3 separate regions of the Homo sapiens genome follow, and regions 2 and 3 are each linked to region 1. Evidence: promoter capture Hi-C in human tissues and cell types (Jung and others, 2019). All regions are on one chromosome and are shown on one strand. The core of a region is centred on a gene start or on the middle of the fragment in contact, and the rest is flanking DNA. Distances in the headings are between cores, read along the strand shown. Region 1 holds the start of INTS10 (integrator complex subunit 10). Region 2 overlaps PSD3 (pleckstrin and Sec7 domain containing 3). Region 3 holds the start of PSD3 (pleckstrin and Sec7 domain containing 3).

What was found. Contacts are between HindIII fragments. The study calls those that stand out against the background at their distance.
Region 2: a contact is called between a fragment that was not itself captured here and the fragment with the promoter of INTS10 in region 1, in 1 of the 25 tissues and cell types used here (hippocampus).
Region 3: a contact is called between a fragment that was not itself captured here and the fragment with the promoter of INTS10 in region 1, in 1 of the 25 tissues and cell types used here (hippocampus).

What each region holds. Positions count from the first base shown.
Region 1 is chr8:19,815,307-19,820,254 of GRCh38, reverse strand. INTS10 (integrator complex subunit 10) reads right to left here and starts at 2,839. Exons shown (of 17, transcript NM_018142.4): 1 at 2,589-2,839; 2 at 1,913-1,980; 3 at 579-682. The coding sequence starts at 2,717. RefSeq lists enhancers at 1,899-1,988, 2,199-2,288, 2,789-2,848, 2,889-2,968 and silencers at 2,469-2,598, 3,119-3,258. The HindIII fragment of the contact is 14,804 bases long and covers 1,641-4,948 here.
Region 2 is chr8:18,863,748-18,868,695 of GRCh38, reverse strand. It overlaps PSD3 (pleckstrin and Sec7 domain containing 3), which reads left to right. Exons shown (of 16, transcript NM_015310.4): 4 at 627-1,022. Among named protein-coding and RNA genes, the nearest start is that of PSD3-AS1, 150 kb to the right of the region's middle. The HindIII fragment of the contact is 4,896 bases long and covers 1-4,405 here.
Region 3 is chr8:19,011,331-19,016,278 of GRCh38, reverse strand. PSD3 (pleckstrin and Sec7 domain containing 3) reads left to right here and starts at 2,576. Exons shown (of 16, transcript NM_015310.4): 1 at 2,576-2,716. The coding sequence starts at 2,696. LOC124901898 (a long non-coding RNA gene) reads right to left here and starts at 2,276. Exons shown (of 2, transcript XR_007060840.1): 1 at 2,083-2,276. RefSeq lists silencers at 2,433-2,522, 2,593-2,692. The HindIII fragment of the contact is 4,673 bases long and covers 1-4,310 here.

The DNA of each region.
Region 1 (4,948 bases), core at 1,590-4,089:
GTTTCACCTACAACCTGGCAGCCTTTTGGAGCCAATAGTATCTGGCACAGGATGTTTGCTGAATAATGGTAAAATATTTGCAAGACTGATCAAATTCAAAAAACAATGATGTATGTGAATGGTCACAAGAATGCCTGTTGCAGGTTGAGATAGAGAGCATGTGCTTGTTGAAGTTCAAATGACCTATGCATCTACTTGCTATTTTATCTAGAGTTTGAAATCTTTGATTGACTACAGCAACATACAGAAGTTTAAAGAGAAAGCTTCTAAATTACTAAAAGCTTCTCTCCTGTTTTGTGGAGAGCTGGTTAATCTATAGCTGCTATCTGGTTATTGTAAAACCTGTTAAAAATATATACAATTAATTCCTCGTCTCACTGATAAATCCATATCCTTTAAAGAAGCTTAAAGGGTTCTAAGCAAGTCAAGGAACCGAGTGACATTATTATAGACTTTGGTTGCCAAGAATAAAACATACATATGGTTACCAATACCCCAGGTGTGACTTTTTTGTGTGTGAAATTACTATATATGATTTGGTATTCCCGAAATGGTAACTTATACACCATTATTCTTACTTCTTAAAAATTGGGTTTGTTTGTCCTGTGAATCGTTCCTTAATGCTGATGTAATAATGCTGATTTCTCTCCACACCACCGGCTGGTCTGGGAAATTCACAAACCTATTTTTAAAATAAATACATTAAATTAAAATGTCAAAGTCTATACAGTATCCAAAAGAAAAAACGTTAGCATTTGGTGAAAAAGTTTCCTTTATTCCAAGTGAATGCTTAGACGTGCCAAAACAAACCAAAATAAAAATGTAAAAATAAGAATTACTTGATTTATAAAAATGAGAGTACTCACATAAGTCTTTAGTGGGTTTTATAGGTGAAAAGACAAGTAACCATAACATAGAAAGAGCTTCTAAAAGTCAACAAGAATAAAACAAACTATTTGAAAGAAAAAATAGGCAAAGGCAAATCACAGAATACACACAGCCAAAGAGAACAGTTGAAACAATACTGAATCTTATTAACAGTATGAGTAGTACAAATTTTTTTTTAAAATAGCAAGATACCATTTTCTCCTATCACAGTGACAAGAACTAAAAAGAGACTAATAATATCCAGTGTTGGGAAGGGTATGGGAAAACACACTCTTTATACACCATTGGTGGTAATGTAGACTGGGATCGCACATTTTGGAGAGTAATTTCATAGCGTATCAAATTTTCAAATGCGCATAAACTTTGACTATGAAAATGTCTTAGAATCTATTCCACAGAAAAACACCAAAATATGACTACAAAATTGTTGACACACTGAATATAATTTCAAATAATTTAAAACTATCTATTTAAATGTCTACCAAGAAGAGAGTGTCTACGAAATACTACACAGGCATGAAAAGGAATGAAGTGGATCTCTACATACTGATATGGGAAGGGGTCCATGAGAGTGAGTAAAGGAAACATGCTGCAGGGCAAAGGTAGTATGGTCTTCTCACTTTTGTAACCCCTTCCCCCCAAAACCTTATTTATGTATTATGCATACATGTATAGATATACTGCCTACAAAACTTAACTCTGGTTCAGTTTAGGATGCACTTTCACTTTTTGTTCTCTATAACAAGTAGTGTTTGAATTTTTGTAATGAGCACATATTATTTCTAGAATAAATTATGAAACAGAAGTTTTAACAAGGATAAAACATAAGAATAATAATTAAACTCTTCTGCAAAAGCCATGTCAGCAATTTATGGCAGGCCTGGACTCCTTACTAGGTTTGCTTTAGGTATCGAAGATATAGATGAACTTGAAGATCTTCCCCCAACTCCCACTTCTGCAGAGAGAAACAAAACCTCATGGAGAGATTCAGTGCAGTAAAAGTGATGTCAAGCGTCCCACTCACATGTCGTACAGCAGCCTCCCGGCGGTGGCGGTCCGCTCTGCATTCCGCTCGATGGTGTACATCTCATACTGCAACACACATCAGGCACCCTGGTCACTCACCCCTGCCCAGAAGGCTCCCAGCTCATCCAGCATCGCTCGTTGGCCCTCCTGCAGGAAGGGAGGGCCTGAGAGTGAAGCTCCGCCTGGTGACACAGCGCCACATACATGGCAGACTTGCCATTGGGCTTAGAGTGTGACCCTGGGGTTCACCTGCAATCTCAGGCTCCCAGGATTAAGTAGGATAATATTTCCAAAGTCGCAGGCCCTGAACAAACTGCTGCCATTATGATGAATGAAGGAGCGAATGGCCTTTTGCTAGTGGCGATCATGTGCTGTCTAGGCCAGATGGCACGCTGAGCCCCAGGGACCTAAGCACACCCGACCTCAAGCGGGATCGGCCGTCTCTCAAGTGCTGGGGAGAGGGCTCCTGGAAGGTGTAGGAGCAAGGCGGGTGAAAGGTGTAGGAGCAAGGTGTAGGATGGGAGGGGAGAGAGGAGGGGGTGGGAGGGGAGAAAGCAGGGGGCCGGGCAGGAGGCGGCAGCCCCCAGGCAGGCGCAGCTCTGGGCCAGGGCAGCCCGGGCGACGGGAGCGCGCACCTCCACGCAGAGCGGCCGCATGCACAGCCGGGACCTCACCTGGATGTTAAAGTCTGCCGGGTAGAGGCTGCGGGCCGTGATCAGCCACGCCTTGGCTGCCCACAGGTCTTGCGGCACCAACTCCCGGGCTCGCTGCACCAGGAACTCGCAGTCCCCCTGGGCAGACATGACCCGAGCGCTCTCCAGCCGCCAGCCCGAAGCGGCCGGAACGTCCGGCTCTGGACTCTCAGCCGCCACGGCAGCCACCGCCGCCGCCGCCGCCACCGCGGGGGAGGCTACTGCGCATGTCTGGAGGCGCACGGAGGCTGGCAGAGTGGATCGGGAAAGCTTTTCCGGGTTTTGCGAGCAGTCTCCTCCCCTTGGCTCCTCGTTACCGCCCGGTCCCCTCCTCTTCTGAGAAGCCAGAGCAGTTGAACCGCTTCCAGGTCACCTCGAAAATGCGGAGAAGTGGATTTTCATTCCTGCGGGCTGCAGCGTGACCTTGGTGAAGTCAGGGAGCATGCGCGGGAGCGGGCAGGCGCCAGGCCTCTTCGCCATTTCCATCCTCTCTGGGTATTGCTCAGTTTGTCGGGGGCGGGGGCGGAGGCGGGGGCGGGGAGACGGGCGGTCCCGGGGAATGGGCGGTCCCTGGGCGTCCCCCCGGCGTGGAAGGTTGAGAAGAAGTTTGAGAGGAACAGCAGAGGGTCGGGGAGGCGGCGGGAAGCACTCTCCACCCGGGCCGGCCTGAAACACCTTCCCCGGGGGCCGCTGCCTGCGACTCACTCCCCGGGCTTCGATTTACGCGAAAACTCCTGGGGCTGGTGGGGGTGATCGTGCAAAGCGTGAGCTCCGGGGTTCCTTCTCTTTCCGAAATCCGTCCACGTTTTATTATTTCACCTTTATGCACCGGTTTCTCCAACAAACGTTTATTGAGCAACGAAGTACTTGGAAAGCGCTTTGGTGGATGCCGTCCGTGGGAGCTGCAAAGATGACTAAAACCCTGACCCAGCAAGGGTTTTATATGTTTTAAATGTTCTGGACGTGAAACCCACAGAAAGATAACTACGCTATTATTATAATTATCTCCTCCAGCCACAATCAATGTCCTTTTCACCAAAACTCCAGATTTGTTTTCCATCTAAGAGATGAAAAACATCTAGGAGATTCTCCATCTAAGAGATTCTCTTGCCTCAGCCTCTCGAGTGGCTGGGATTACAGGCGTCCACCACGACGCGCTAGCCCGGCCAATTTTTGTATTTTTAGTAGAGACGGGGTTTCACCATGTTGGCCAGGCTGGTCTGGAACTCCCGACCCCAGGTGATCCGCCCTCCTTCGCCTCCCAAAAGTGCTGAAATTACAGGCATGAGCCACCGTGCTGGGCTTCGAAGCACTGTTTAATATCTCCTACTTATGCACAGAACAGCATAACTGTATGATTACTTTATGGGCCAGGATTACTCAGTGATACAGTTATTTTGGGTTTGTAGAATAGAAGATGGTAGAAAATTGGATTTAAACGGAGTAGGATAATTTTTATGTTATAAAGTGTACAGCATAAAAGCAGATTGCTAGCTTGAATTGTTAAAATTATTTCATTGATGTTAATATATGAAGTGTAAGAATTTTCAAATGGTAAAAATGACTGATTTGGTCATTAAACTTTCTGGTTTTGGTCTTTACCAAAAATAAAAAAACAACTCCACACTTGTTCCTGAGCCTAGTGTTCTGTGGAATAACAATTGTAAATTAAGATTTTAAATTTAGAGGCTAAATAAGGAAATTCTGTTTTTGTTTGTTTGTTTGTTTTTGAGACACAGTCTTGCTCTGAAATCCAGACTGCCAGTGAGTGCAGCAGCTCGATCATGGATCACTGCAGCCTTGACCTCCCAGGCTCAAGCCATCCTCCTGTCTCAGCCTGTGGAGTAGCTGGGACTACAGGTGTGTGCCACCACATCTGGCTAATTTTAAATTTTTTTGTAGAGACACAGTCTCCCTATGTTGCTCAGGCAGTTCTTGAACTCCTGGGCTCAAGTGATCCTCCTGCTTCAGCCTCCCAAAGTGCTCGGATTACAGGCATGAGCCATTGCGCCCAGCCTCTGTATGTATTTTAGATGCCAACCTTGAGAGGGCCTCTAGACTTTTTGCCAGAATACAACGTAAGGTTTGTGGTTATTTTCTAGTCAGCTTCTTGATTTTGAATGGTCCCCAGCTAAACATTTCTCCTACAGTGTTATGCTGGCATCTCAAAGTACAGAAGGGAGGTAACACACCAAGTGAGTTTACATCTTTTGGCCTCCTTGCCATGATCTTGACTCACTGGAGACTTGAGGCGCCTAGCTCATGTTCTTCTCCATGACAACTTTTTTTTTTTTTTTTTTAAAGACGAGTTTTGCTCTTATTGTCCAGGCTAGAGTGCAGTG
Region 2 (4,948 bases), core at 708-3,207, 950 kb after region 1:
TTTTGAGCTGTTTCTAATCTCTCAAAGCTTTGGTTAGCCTTGCTTCTGTTGCCTTTTTGTTAGGCCGTTAATTGGCTATCTAATTTTGGACGTGAAATCTCTCTGCAGTGCTGCTCTGTTGTCAGCAGGGGGCAGCTCTTGGCTTCTGATGCAGTCATCTGCTTGAGAGCATTTGGCCTTATTTAAATCAGAAAGTATTAATCAACTGATGAAAGTTTGGTGTATTTTTACTGAAATTTTGCCGTATCAAGTTTCCATGATATATTTATCTGCTTCTGTTATAATTAGGAATGCTGGTAGTTGCAAATAATCTGAATGTGTACGGTATATTTGGCTAAAATGAGAATTGAATATTTTATTCATATCTTCATTGGACCAGATGTATTCACACATTAGGAAACTAGTTTGAAACTTTATTAAAGTATTTATAGTGTCCTAGCCACATGCATGCCAAGAATTTTTCAACCTGATTATATTTCATAGCTTCCTTCCCAAATATGTTAAGATATAAGTCAATGAATAGAAGAGTTAGATCTTCAGAATGTTGTCCTTTTTATATGGTTGAAGTGGGAGAAATAAAGACATTAACCTAATATTGGAATTCTTCACTCTTATTTACTTTCCAGGATCAGCGAACAAGAGGAGCACGTTAAGGGGGAAGATGAAGACATCCTTGGGCCTGGATATACGGAGGACTCCACCGACGTGTACAGCTCCCAGTTTGAAACCATTTTGGACAACACTTCTTTATACTACAGTGCAGAGTCCCTGGAGACATTATACTCAGAGCCTGATAGCTATTTTAGCTTTGAAATGCCCCTCACTCCAATGATACAACAGCGCATTAAAGAAGGTGGTCAGTTCTTGGAGAGGACATCAGGGGGAGGACATCAGGATATCCTGAGTGTGTCTGCAGATGGTGGCATCGTGATGGGCTATTCTAGTGGCGTCACCAATGGGCTGAATGATGCCAGCGACTCCATCTACACGAAAGGCACCCCGGAGATTGCTTTCTGGGGAAGGTACTCGTCCCATTCTCATTCATTTCATGCTGGTGGTTTTTGTAGGATTTCTTTTCTGGGAAATCTGAGTGTGGAATATATATTTAAATCATTTGGCCAATTTCTGTGGACATAAGCAAATGATGTGAGTAAAAAGTAATTTGAGTTTTAGGGCAGGAAAGACACACCTTAGTGGTTTGTCACATTGGCACACTGTGATCATTTTAGTCTGTGGGATTTCCTGGATGACTATATATAAATTGGATACCAAACAAATATTTGGGGATGATGAGTGAGGTTATCAGCTCCGATGATGGCAGAGACGTGGTGCTGTGAAACGAACACTGAGAGATCGTAGCTTTAGTCTGGCACTGAGGGTGGTTGAAGACTTCAAGAAGATTGTTTGATTAGCTCAGAGATTCCTTCATTGGAAATTAAAGTGGTGGACTATACAGTCAGCAAAGTCTCTTCCAGCCCTTTGCTCTGAGAGTTCCTGTTCTGTCTTCCTGTTCCTGACGTGTTGAAGGAAGGATCCGATTAGACAGATGCTTGAGAGAGCTGATATCTTGGTCTAGGCTCCGTATTTATTTTCTCTCTCTACTTTAGGATTTTTAATCTATCTGGGAGATAAAATGACAAATTATGTACATTGTATCCACCATGCCTGTTATTTGGGGATTCCGCGACTATTTATGGATTATCCAGCGTTTCATTTCTTCATGCTCGTCATCCTCAGGTTATCTACCTGTGACAATTTTATGAATTTTGTTTTGGTATATGTGTGTGTGTGTGTGTGTGTGTATGTATGTATGTTTGTGTGGAGCTGGTGGGAGGTGTTAAATGGTGATCAACTATTTTAAAGCTGTTTAAAGCTGTATTAAATAATACCAGTGTTTTTTGTTAAAAAAAAAAAAAGCCAGTATTAATATTACAGGTTTTCAATGGACCTCTCTTTTTGAGCAGTCTGCCCTGTGCTGAGCATTTTCTATAACCAGTTTGAAGGTTTATAGTTCATTAGATGAGCAAATTCAGGATTGGCTCCTTGTGACATTGTAGCTATGCATTTTCTTGTGAATATGGATTGTGGATATTGGTTGTCTTACTGGGTCACAGTGAGAATAAAAAGAACAAGGTGTCAAAACCACAAGACTTTGGTCTGAAGTACTTGGGCAAGCCACTTACGTTCTCTGAAACTGGATTTATTTATTTGCGAAATGGGGTTAATGATCCAGTGTGTTGTGAGGCTGTGAGATTTAAAGGGTTAATAGAGACTAAAGCACCTCGCACAGGACATGGTACAAAGCAGAGCCTGGGTAAGTGTGTGCATATGAACTGGTTGCCTGGTTAGTCCACATCTAGACTTCTTGTATCTCTGAGATCAGAGTGTCTCTCAGTGGAAGAGTACTGGCGAGGAGGCATTCCTGAAAGCAGTGTCCCCGTGAGGCGGTGCTCCTCAGTGGAGGGTGCCACCTTAGTCCTCCCCTTTCACCTTCGTCTCTGAGGACTGCAAATTGTGATAAAACGCTGTAGGAAAGGTATGCAGATAATTGCACTGAAATTCCCACTCAGTTTTCTAGGGTGAGTGGAAGTTGTTTATATTACAGACCAAACATGGTTTGGGGAGTGGAAGAGTTTTGGGCTAAGAGGCTTCACTGCAAAAGCCACAGGGAGTGGTTGTAAGTGAAGCCGAGAGATGAACACCAGTGAAGGAACTGGGTGAAAGGTTTATTAAATGTGCGGCTTGTGCACTTAGAACAGGAGGTTGTCATCATTTGGGCCAGCATGGGTGCCAGTCACGAGGATGGACAGAGTTGGGAGAGAATATTAGAGTAGGTCATAGTATTTTAGCATCTCATATTTAGACAGTGGTATTCTTCAGGCCGTGTTGAGATAAAGTTTCAGCTGTGTCACCTGCATTGTCAAACCAGGAGATCTTGTCTAGTGGTAAAGGACCACGTTCTAGTGGTGAGTGACAAGCACCTTGGAGACGCGCCAGCTTGCCTCTCCCCGAGTCTGGGCACTCCTACTGTACAATTCCTGATTGGTGGTCATCCTACCATGTGCTGAGCACTGCCAGTGGCTTGGACAGACAAGCTTGGCAGGACTCCCCCATTTTGTGTTATTTGAGGTTGGCATATGATAATAAGTGGTTACAGGTGGAGGAAGCTTTATTTTGTGATGTATGTCTCTATTCAAGGTTAAAAGGTAGGGCAGGTTTAATGATCCTAAGAAATTTTAAGGAAACTGAAAAACCCATATTTTTCTTTACTCCCTTCTACCTTCCTTGCTGATTTGGAGAAGTTGTAACCAAAGAAGAATTGTGTTACTATTGTGGGTTAGAGAATGAGAACATTTTACTACTTGAAGGGGCCTCAGATAGCCTTTAAAAAAAAAAAAAAAAAAAAAAATATATATATATATATATATATATATATATATATATATATATATATATATATATATATATATAACATAGAATCTGTATTCCAGTTTGGTGGGATATCTTACCCAAAGCCACGTGGCTGTCTTGTGACAGATACCGTAGTAGAATTCAAGTTGTCTGGCTCCTAGGCCGGATTCATTCACTGTGCTAGGTGTTGGGTCTTTTATTTTGTTATTCTTCTTTTGATCGGATTTCTCTCATGCCATGTGTTGATAAAGCCGGAAGTCTGAGATGGTCTGTTTTCAAGAAACTAAGTTCTAAATGTAGAGCTGCTTGTTGTTGTTGTCGGTGGTGGTGTATGCATTCAATTTGAAGGAAAATTTACCAGGTCAATAATACACACGTTTCCACACATTTTTAAAGCAATCAGTGAGCTGGCCTTTTAAAATTTCATCTGCGTTAAAACATCCCTCTGCCGAGGCAAGGAAGTGGACATTGAGGTATTAAGCCTGTCCTTCAGCCAAGCACTGAGGGCCCAAGTGTTAGAATTAAAGGAAAAAAAATTTCCCATTGTATTAATATATTTACAAAAGAAAAGTCATAAATAAAAGCAGTGGCCATGCCTCCATTCCATCTGTGTTCACTCGCCTCTCCTGCTTCCTTGCTAGTGGTGGGGGTCTGAGTACATTGCATAAAGTGAGCTCTGAGGAAGGCTTAAAAGAAAAGGAATAAGACTAATGAATTCTCCCCTGATCGCGCCTCCTTGATATTTGGTAGACATGAACCAAGGAAATTAAATATTGATTTTAATGTATAAAGTGTTAGTCGCTAGCTTGTAAAAAATATTATTACTTTAGCTAGTCTCTGAACATAATTGTGTGTCATATGTGGCCCATAGGTTTGATTTATTTAGTAAACACATGATGCTTCGTTCTCATAATGAGCTATAGGGGGAAGAAAGGAACTATTAGTGTTCTAATTTTCCGAATAAGGAAACTGAGGTACAGAGAGGTTGAGTAACTTGCTAAAGGTCACACAGATGGTAAGTGGCATACTCAGCCCTCGAACACAGGCAGTCAGCCTCCAGAGCCCGTGCTCTTACTGAGCTATGCTGAACTGGACCAAGTGGTAATGATTTCATGGTAGATCTAGAACAAGACCAGATATCTTCAACAAAACAAAAATGTATTTGCTTTGCTATTGCCTAGATTTACTTAAATCCTTTTCTGTTTCAAGATCTGTCTTTACTTTGTCATTAAAGATTATTTCAGTGGCGGTATTGGACAGTGATTTTTTTTTTGAGCACAGGATGACACTGTTCTCGGCTGAATTGCTCTTTTAAAGAAAGGTGCAAGAGGTTGGGAAGGCTGATTGTGGTGTTGTAGCACTTAGTTCCTTCTCTCAGGAATGCCTTCCAGTCTTGGGCTCAGCCATCCTTTGGCGGCCAGAGGGACACTGTTCTTCCCTGTTACTCTCTCTACTCAAGTCAAAGAAGAAAATATTCCAAATCTATAATATTCTAGTATGCAGTTGGGAAAGACAGTTTTTTTTTTGAGTGCGTGTC
Region 3 (4,948 bases), core at 725-3,224, 800 kb after region 1:
ATGTTATTGGATAAATATACACTAGCCCATGCCTAGGTGGTCTGCGTGCCTCCTTTCTTTTTTTACCAAGGCGGGTGCTTGTGTATTCTGACACTGAACTTGAGCACTGGGGGCTATGGTAGCAGAAATGGGGATTCTTACTTCATTTTTAATATTTCCAAAAGCCTAACAAAATATTTACACACAAAATACATGCTGGCAAAAATGAAATGTCAATGTTTATTTGATTTGCTTTAGGCTTCATTGACTTAGTAGTGGTAACACTGGCTAATTTATGCTGATCAGAACCTCTAACCATTTTATCTTTGATTATTTATAACTGGACGAATGAATGATTATTTAATAGATGTGATCAGCTTTATAAGTACAATCTTAAAATATTTTGGCTTCAGGGATAAAACCAATTAAAAATTTCCTTTGCGATGGAAATTGGAAACACATTTCTGTGGCTTCACTTATGAAATGCTCCTCTATTGAACATTCACTATAGGCCAGGAGCTTTCCTTAATTTATCATGCTAATAACACTTCTGTATGGCATTATTAACCCAATTTTATAAATGAGGAAACAGAGGCTCAGATTATAGATGTCTATGCCCAAGTCCCTTAACTAGAAATATCAAGTAAATCTATGTCCACCCTGCCTCCTATATGATTACTTTTTTTTGTTTGTTTATGAGTTGGTTAATTTCCCAGGTAAAGGCCAGTAGGCCAGTGGTCAAGCCTCAGGGTAGCAACTACATTTTGTACTGGGTCTTACTTTTGATGCTTTGCCAACAAAACCGTCAAGGAAGGCAGGAGTTGACTGGGAATAGGCACACTGGGACTGTCTCTGTAGGGTATGTACGCAAGGGTAAAGGGAGATCACAAACGAGAAATATGCCTGTATTCGTCCATTTTCACACTGCTGATAAAGACACACCGGAGACTGGGCAGTTTACAAATGAAAGAGGTTTATTGGACTTGCAGTTCCACATGGTTGGGAGGCCTCACAATCATGGCGTAAAGCAAGGAGGAGCATGTCACATCTTAAGCGGATGGCAGTAGGCCAAGAGAGAGCTTGTGCAACAAGCGCTCCCATTTTTAAAATCTTCAGATCTCGTGAGACTCATTCACTATGACGAGAACAGCCCAGGAAAGACCCGCCCCCATAATTCAATCACCTCCCACAAGGTTCCTCCCACACACCTGGGAACTGCGGGACTTACAATTCAAGATGAGATTTGGGTGGGGATACAGCCAAACCATATCAATGCCCAAGTGACTGGGGTGCTTCCAAACCTACACAGCTGCTCACACTGCTGCTCTGGCAGGGGGAGCATGAGCTGCGGACGTTTTTCTGAAGTTGGAGTGAATTTGTATAAAGGCATACACTCCCTCATGCTGGCTCCTCTGGTGGGTGTCCAAGGCTTCCTTTGATAGATGCAGATGGGGCAGCCAAGGCAAAGTAGGTGACTTATGTGGCCTTGGTGCATCTCAGCTATGCTCACCGGGCAGCCCATGCTGACATGGTGGGCGAGATCGTGGGGCCACCAGGGAACCTGACTCCACTCCCATCTCTAAGCTTGGCCAAGTCAGTCACTTCTCGTTATTGGGGCGTCTTCTACCTGTCACTTGAAAAAGACTGTTCTTTGGAACAATAAGGCGGTAACACATACACAGGACCACCCTGTAGCCGGCCACACAGGTTCCGCCTCCAGGTGCTTGGATCTACTTAACGGACCTCCCAGGGGGAAAGATTTGCGGTCTCTCCGTCCCTCTACCAGGGGAGGGCGCCGTTCCAGCCCTTGCCTCTGCGGCACAGATCAAAGGACGGAGGAAAAAAGGTGCGGGTCCGGGGCACTAATGTTCGAAAATGCAGTTTTAAGTGACCTCTCCCCGCGCACGCACTGTCGGTGGGGGCAGTCCCGAGGCCAGGCTGCGGGGCGCCTGGGGGGACTCGCCTCAGGGGGAAATGGCCCTTTCAGGGCTCGACGGGTCCCCGGGACTAAACGCTCCGGCCGCGGATCGGTGCCGGGGGAGCCCGGTCAGAGAGGCCGGGACCCCGAGGGACGCCTAGGTGCGTGTCCCGAAGCCCGCGTACCTCCAGCCCCGGCGAGACGGCGCCCAACTCGCGGCTCCAGTCACACGGCCCTTCCTGAGAGGAAACACCAGGGAAAGCACCTCTCACTTTTCTCAGGGTGGGAAAACTGTGAAGGAAGAAGACAAAGCAACAGGCAGGTTTTCGCTCGCGGGCTGGAGGCTGGGCCCAGGGCGGGCGCGCGGCTGCGGGAGGCAGCGGACGGTCCGGGCCGCTCGAGGGCTGCACTGCGAGGGTCTGGATCGCCTCCAGCCTCCCCCGGAGGCCCCGCCCCTGCCCTGGAGACCCCGCCCCCGCCTCGGAGGCCCAGCCACCTCCCCCCTCCCCGAGGCGTCGGCCCCGCCTCTCCGCCCTCCGCCCTCCGCCCCCGGGGCCCGCCACCGCCGGCCCGCCTGCGCCGCCTTCGCTTTGACGTTACTGGGGGCCGGGCGGGCGGCTGCCGCGGGCTCGCAGCCTCGCCAGCCTCCGCCAGGGTGCGCGCGGGCCGCCGCCTCTCGGCAGTCCCGGGAGCTCAACAAAGAGCACGCGGCGCTGGCCGCCGGCACTCGCGCCCTGAGGCTGCGGCCCCGGAGCGCCCGGCGGCGGTTTCGGCGCGCGGCCGGGCTGGCGATGGAAGATGGAAGGAAGGAGCGCAGCGGTGAGCTCCGGGGCCGGGGCGCGGGCGCGGGGTGCGCACGCGGCGCCGCTGTTCGACGTGGGGTTTGTGTTGCTTTGTCGCCGCTCTGTCCCCCAGGATCCCGGGGCCACCTGGGTTTGTGCTGTCTGGATAGGTGCAGGGTGCGATTTTTCTCTTCGCGCTTGCTTGCTTTGTGTTTTTTAGGAGCCCAGCAGGGTCAACTTTGTGGTGTTAAGGTTTAGGGGTTTTAGTTCATACCTCGGCTTTGAAAACCTCAGACTTTGGAGAAAAGCTATCAAAAGAAGGCAACATGAAAGAGGACCTCGTATGCCGATCTTTCTTTGCCCGGTCAGCTTGTATTTAGGGACTATCACGTTTCTGTCAGAAAGAAAGAAAAAAAGACTAAACTAAACAAACTTGAATTGAGCGAGCAAACGGACAAGGGAAGATTATTCGGTGCAATTCCCAGGAGCTTTTACAGATGTTTAAGTCATTCTGTTTTACATGCATTTAACTTTATCCGCCGTTTTCAGCTTTCCGTTCTGGCGAATGATGTTCTGAATTTTTTTTTTAAACACATTAACACCGATTAGAGGACGTGGGTTTAGAATGTTGTTGGTGACCTAAATAATAAATGTTTCGTTTTGCCATTCCCCTCGATGTCAAAGGATGTTAAACGCCCACTAGGCAGAGGATGGAATGGGCACCACGATTTCATTTTCTAGACACTGGTTCTCCCGATAGCGGGATCCAGGATTTCCGCTCCAGAATAACTCTTGAGTGGGTCCAGGTGTTGGTGTAGGGAAGACGGAGATCTGGAAAATTACTGTAAGTGGGATTCTGGCAACAAATGCCTCAATGCGTTCGTTGTAATTGAGTATGTGCAAAGGATTTTGCAAAGCCCGGTAGCTAGGTAAGTAGGATAGGATTTCTGCTTTCAAGAAGCGTGCTTGAGAGCTTGCCTGGGAGAGACTTATGCGTAGGCTACCATGGAGGATCTCAGAGGAAGCTTCTGGCCTCCGGGCTTGGAAGTTCTCAGAGAGGAGCTGGCAGTTATGCTGGACCTTGAAAGGGAGGGGTTGATTGGATTTTTGTGAGATGTGAGGGAAAGGATGTCCCCTGCTAAAGGAAAGGGAATTCACTTTCTACCCTTTTCCAAGAAATGATCCTTTCTTTTCTGAGAGTATTTACAAACCAAGAGGTTTTCTTTTCAAAAAGTCATGAAATTCCTCTTCAGCAGTTAAAAGTGCAACATGCTCAACATCACCAGTTAAGCAAATGCAAAATAAATTAGCACCTTTTCAACCAGTTTTTAGTGGCTGGCTGGATGTCCTTCCACAACCTTTTTATATCCATCCACAAGTGATTTGTCTTGTAAGATATTTCATTAATAGAAGCTTTTTGTACTAAAAGGAGTAGAGTGGTATCAAGAAAGGGACTTGGATCTGTAGGTAGGACACCTAGCTTAGAGGCTTTGCCACTGACTGGGTGAGTTTTTGCCACCGTCTTGGGCAAATTATTTAACTTCTGTCGCTACAGTTTCCTGGTAGGGTGAGGGGATTAGGTAGATGCTCTTTCAGAGCCTTCTAGCCCTACCATTTGATATTTCCATGCCTAGACACGTTTTATGCATTACTTATTCAGTGATGTACTCTTAATTTCACATTCTAAATATCTGTTTGTGTGTTCTGTGAATGGATCAGCACTCTTATCCTGACCATTGAATGTGGGAGAGTGATTAGAGCTACAAAGCTAAAATAACCTTATTACGGCCAAATTCCGTGGTTGAATGTTGTTGTTGTTTTTTTTTTTTTAAATGCGAGCATAAGAAGCTTGATTTGCCAATCTTAATGTGTGTTTTCTTTAAAGAAAGTTTTGTTGACACTGTTCATTTGTGACCAAAGAATAACATATACCTTATTATGTACATTGCACTTAAGCAATTCAATTCTGCTTTTAATCAGATACTAGTAATTTAAAAAATTGAGTAACCTTGGAAATTCTTACAGGCTAGTAAATCTTGGGAATTTGGAAATAAAAAAATAAAGTAAGATGGAAGTAGCTCATTGAAAAAGAAAAATTTAAAGGTACTTTCAGTCAATGGCTCTGCCCTCTTTCTAAAACCTTGATATTTACATATTTGTTTGCCAGCCCTGATGGAAAATTATTTGAGTGGAATTTAGCGTGGCATTACATTGAAAAAACATGTCCATGGTACTACTACTTTTGGAGGTGATTTTTTTTCTTTTATAG